Linked DNA regions of Homo sapiens: region 2 is linked to region 1. The links are contacts of gene promoters, found by promoter capture Hi-C in blood cells and fetal thymus (Javierre and others, 2016). All regions are on one chromosome and are shown on one strand. Each heading gives the region's core, a stretch centred on a gene start or on the middle of the fragment in contact. The rest is flanking DNA. Distances are from core to core; before and after follow the strand shown. Region 1 holds the start of HAUS1 (HAUS augmin like complex subunit 1). Region 2 overlaps SLC14A2 (solute carrier family 14 member 2).

The links. Contacts are between HindIII fragments. The CHiCAGO score rates a contact against its expected background, and 5 or more counts as called.
Region 2: a contact is called between a fragment that was not itself captured here and the fragment with the promoter of HAUS1 in region 1, in 1 of 17 cell types (total CD8 T cells). The highest score is 5.6, in total CD8 T cells.

What each region holds. Positions count from the first base shown.
Region 1 is chr18:46,103,033-46,105,732 of GRCh38, forward strand. HAUS1 (HAUS augmin like complex subunit 1) reads left to right here and starts at 1,353. Exons shown (of 9, transcript NM_138443.4): 1 at 1,353-1,409; 2 at 2,162-2,336. The coding sequence starts at 1,380. It also overlaps a transcript of ATP5F1A not described here. RefSeq lists a silencer at 1,178-1,277 and an enhancer at 1,668-1,757. The HindIII fragment of the contact is 1,925 bases long and covers 1-1,867 here.
Region 2 is chr18:45,673,038-45,675,737 of GRCh38, forward strand. It overlaps SLC14A2 (solute carrier family 14 member 2), which reads left to right. Exons shown (of 20, transcript NM_007163.4): 17 at 1-10; 18 at 646-780. All of the region lies in intron 7 of LOC105372093 (a long non-coding RNA gene), which reads right to left. Among named protein-coding and RNA genes, the nearest start is that of SLC14A1, 50 kb to the right of the region's middle. The HindIII fragment of the contact is 3,136 bases long and covers 1-2,700 here.

The DNA of each region.
Region 1 (2,700 bases), core at 103-2,602:
GGCTCACACCTGTAATCCTAGCTCTTTGAGAGGCCGAGGCAGGCAGATCACTTGAGGTCAGGAGTTTGAGACCAGCCTGATCAACGTGGTGAAACCCCCCGTTCTACTAAAAATAAAAAAATTATCCCTGCATGCTAGCACAAGCCTGTAATCCCAGCTACTAGAGAGGATGAGACAGGAGAATTGCTTGAGCCTGGGGACGGGGGTTGGAGGTCGCAGTGAGCCAAGATCATGTCACTCTGCACTCCAGCCTAAGCGACAGAGAAACACTCCATCTCAAAAAGAAAAGAAAAGGTCGGGCGCAGTGCCTGTAATCCCAGCACTTTGGGAGGCCAAGGCGGGCGGATCACCTGAAGTCAGGAGTTCGAGACCAAGCTGGCCAACCTGATGAGATCCCATCTTTACTAAGATACAAAAAATTAGCTGGGCGTGGTGATGCACACCTGTAATCCCAGCTACTCGGAAGGCTGAGGCAGGAGAATCGCTTGAACCCGGGAAGCAGAGGTGGCAGTGAGCTGAGAGCCGAGAGCCGAGATCGTGCCACTGCCCTCCAGCCTGAACAACAGAGACTCCATCTCAAAAAAAAAAAAAAAAAAAAAAAAGCTGGGCGCGCTGGCTCACGCCTGTAATCCCAGCACTTTGGGAGGCCGAGGTGGGCGGATCATGAGGTTAGGAGTTCGAGACCAGCCTGGCCAATATGGTGAAACCCCGTCTCTACTAAAAACACAAAAATTAGCCAGGCGTGGTGGCGCTTGCCCGTAGTCCCAGCTACTTGGGAGGCTGAGACAGAAGAATCGCTTGAACCCAGGAGGCAGAGGTTGCAGTGAGCCGAGATCATGCCACTGCACTCCAGCCTGGGCGACAAAGCGAGACTCTGTCTCAAAAAAAAAAAATGTCCCTAGTTTTTAGGTTGGGGGAACTAACGGATCAAGTTAAGATTGCCTCAGCTCATATTGCCAGGGTAGAATATAAATTCTGAGTGGATGCAATCAATGTGGAAGAAACACAAACATCTTGCTAAGCAAGAACCAAACGTTTCAAGTACTTTTTTTTAACGACAAGTGATTCAAACAAGAAATAAAAATAAAAGAAAGAAAAAACAACCTGGTTCTAGGCGGCTCTATCTCTCGTAGTGTTGATTATACCGCGGAAGGCGGGAAGAGCTGGGAAGTGGCAACGAAGCGAGGCTTGCAATGCCAGAGCCTTCGACCAGCCTTGCACAGGGGCTCAACGGCCAGGAGTCTCAGGTAAAACCACAACTCCCAGAAATCCCGGGCCCGGCGAGGGGCGGGTGCCAACGGCGTGTGGGCGGGGCCTAGGGAGTGAGCGGGGCGCATCTCCCGCTAGGAGTTCCTAGTAAAGTGGCGGGAGCCGCAGCTATGGAGCCGCAGGAGGAGAGAGAAACGCAGGTGATGGGGCGGGAATGGGGATCGTTGGCCTCCTGGAAAACGCGTTTTTGACACCCCCGCGCCGACAGCGGGTCTCCTGTGCGCGCCACGTCTACTTTTCTCTCCCCTATTCCACACATCCGTCTTTTAGTGCCGCCGTCACTATCTGCAAGCCCCCCGTGCTTAGACTCTCCTGAAGGCCTTTCCCTTCCTGCCCGGGCCTCCCCTTGTTTGGATCTGGCCCGGGAGAGGCGTTGAGCAGCCCGTGTCCACAGACTCTGGAGTGGGACTTATGAAGCCAAACCCGCCTTCCGGTTCGCTGCTCAGCCCGGCGGCTTCCACATCTGAACTGCTTCCGCGCCCTGCATCCCAACACTGGGAGCCTCCCGGCGCGGCGGGGCTTCTGGTGATCGAGGGACAATTGCTTTTTTCAGACCATGCACGGTCTAATAATGCGTTCGCATTATTATGGTCTATTAAGCTTTAAGGTTTTTCAAGCGAGGCAAATTGTTAGCCTGTACCGCTTTTGCAGATTTGGAAAAGAACGGATTGTTCTCTGGTAATTTTCAGTATTGTACGTTTCTTTGTGTACTTGCTCACTTTTTATTTCCTGATATCTAGTATCTCCCTAAAGACAAGTGAGGTTGTGAAGTAGGACTCCAAAATAGTCACAGAAAGCATTTAGTTTGCTTTTGATCACTTCTTTGTCATATTCTCATCGAGCCATTACAGTAAACAAGGCTTATAATATTTGTCTTTCTTTTAATGGTTAGGTTGCTGCGTGGTTAAAAAAAATATTTGGAGATCATCCTATTCCACAGTATGAGGTGAACCCACGGACCACAGAGATTTTACATCACCTTTCAGAACGCAACAGGGTCCGGGACAGGGATGTCTACCTGGTAATAGAGGACTTGAAGCAGAAAGCAAGTGAATACGAGTCAGAAGGTGAGATTAAGTCCAGAGTTTTGAACGAGAATAAATAGAGGTAACCAAATTTTATAACACTAAAGTATACAGGATTAATTTACTGTAGACTACTTGTTTTGCTCCTTTATTTTTCCCAGATTTTCTTCCACTCTGTTATAGTAGTAACTTTATTGTTTTATGTTTATATATATGTATATGTATGTGTGTGTGTGTGTGTGTGTGTGTGTGTGTGTGTGTGTGTGTATATATTTTAGACAATCTTGCTCTGTCGCCCAGGCTGGAGTGCAGTGGTGTGATCTCAGCTCACTGCAACCTCCATCTCCTGGGTTCAAGTGATTCTCATGCCTCAGCCTCCCAAGTAGCTGGGACTACAGGCCTGCAC
Region 2 (2,700 bases), core at 17-2,516, 430 kb before region 1:
ATGCTAGCAGGTCTGTGTCCTCACTTCCCTGGGCTGTGAGGGGGTTAGAGCCTGGGGCCAGCTCCAAATAAAATGGTGACTCTCATCTTCAACACTCCACCTGCTGATTCCTGTGAACTTTCCCTCCTTCTGTTGTACCCTGTTTCTCCGTTTTTGATCTAGCCCCTTTATCCTCCCCTGAGCCACAGCTGCCCTCAAGAAAGGCTTTGGTGTTAGTCATTCACACCTTAGTATAAATTTAAAGTTTGGGGGAAGTTTCTTCCAGGTATATTTACATGTTAAGTGATCTGCAATGACAGCAAGAAAGATTCGTTCTCCATTAGAGAATTAAGGTATCGATGAAGGAGGAGAGGTTCTCTTTCTTGGCAGGGGAAGGATATTCTCTGGACTGTTTAAATCAGACTTCTGTCCTTACTCAAAGAATCTCTTCAACCCATGCCAGCTTAACTGCTAGTATTCATGGGACTCTATGGCCATTTGTTTCCTTTAGATGTTTTTTCACAGAATAAAGCCAGAAGTCCTTTTTGTATAACTACCTAAGAAGATAACTGGCTCCGGGCTTTGAGGACTGTGGTAGGTTTCAGGGCCAGCAGATGGGCCCCATAAGACCCTAGACCCAACCCTGATGCCTGCCTTCTGTCACAGCACTCACTATTGCGACGCCCTTTGACTCCATCTACTTCGGCCTGTGTGGCTTCAACAGCACCCTCGCATGCATAGCGATAGGAGGCATGTTCTACGTCATCACCTGGCAGACGCACCTCCTCGCCATCGCCTGCGGTAGGTACTCCCCACAGAGGATTTGTTTCCTTTATAAAAGGCTTTTTACATAAAACTGTTTTTTTATGTTTTTTAATGGTTATTTAGTAATTAATAGATTAAACACTATTTTCACTGAATACTCAACGTTCAGTCACATGAAGACGGTGGTGGAGGTTTGATTGTTGTTCCTGGGCTGTCTCCTGTGATTGCTACTCTCCTGGCGGGGGTTGGAGCAAACTGGCTGAGCAACTCTTATGCAGGTTACTCGTTACATATGGAATTGGGTGATTTACGTCTTCTACAGCGATTCACCTTAAGCATTCAAACATTAACCACAGACCCTTCAAATGACTCCTCTTTGTTATATATTTGTTCAGAGTCCCAGGAAATTAGATCGACTGTAACAAGTTGGTAGATTTGTATGTCCTCATCCTTGAACATCCTTTATTTCTTGATGTTATATGACTGGAAACCAAACAAAACTCCTTTTGAGCAGAACATTTAAAACAGAAGTTCTATTTCAATACATCTGTAGACTCTGTGAACATTATCTATATAAACTTATTTTTAAAAATAAATTTATAATAAAAATTTTCCAAATATTCTTGCTCGGGAAGATGTTCTGGATCAGCTATGGCCACATATTTGTTTCCTTAAGATAATTTGTAGATATATTTTCTTTTGCATTTTATGACAGTGACTACGAACTCTAAACAAGATACGAAGGGTAAAGCTGCTGTCTTTTTCATTTGCTCTTCTTAAAATTACTTTTTGCTACACCAACCTAAGGCCAGCACACTGTAGTTACTTAAAAAAAAAAAAAGTAGCTGTCATATTGCCCAAATAAAAGGTAGCCATTCACCTAACACCCACCACAAAGTAGGCACTTTAAATACGTCATCTCTACCTTAACACTAATTCTCAAGGTTGGTATTACTATTCGTATTTTGCAAACGAGGAAAAGTTGTGTCAAAGAGCAAGACTAAGGTGAGACAAGGGAGACACGTGGGATGCAAAATTTAAGGAGGTGCTTACTCTCAGGGCCAAGCAGGTGATGACCCTGACATATCCCCATGACCCTGAGAGTGAAGGCCACTTGAAATTTTGCACCCCAGGTGCTTCACTCACCTCCCCAAGTCCCAGCCTTGACAAAGAGGTGAAGTGGCTCAACTGCGTGTAAAAGACAAGGCTGAGACATGAAGCTAGGTCTTCCTCCATCCGAACTCATTAAACTCCCCACCCCCTTTCCCAGCATGGCACCTCTCTCTATTCCAGAAGCCTCTGATAAATCAAGGTGCACTCACTGGTTTCAAGGAAACTGAGTCACATCATCTCCCAAAAGTGCCAATGAGCCTGACGATCTCAGGAAACATGAGAATACACTAAAGTGAATTTTAAGCCCCTGTAGGTGGATCCTTGAACTTTTAGACAGACTACACAGTAATAATATCTAACATTTATTGGTTTTCACCAAAATACTTTTCCAAATATTACTCCATTTTATCATTTTTAGAAGCTGAAAACTCCAGCTTTATTTTGTAGCCGTGGTGCCTGAGGCTAAGGGAGGTAAAAGGACTTGCCTGTGGGCAGAGGTAGAGTCAACCCTCCTTCTACAAGTTAAAGAAAGACCTGGAAGCATCCAGTGATGTACGTATAGACCAAAAATGGGAAAGCAGTCTATAACACATACAAGTGGAGTTTGGGGGGCGTTTTACTGTTGTTGTTGTTGTTTTGAGACAGGGTCTTACTCTGTTGCCCAGGCTGGAGTGCAGTGGCATGATCACGGCTCACTGCAGCCTCAACTTCCCAGGCTCAAGTGATCCTCCCACCTCAGCCTCCTGAGTAGGTGGGGCTGTAGGCATGCACCACCATGCCCAGCTAATTTCTATATATATATATATATATATATATTTTTTTTTTTTTTTTTTTTGGAGAGAC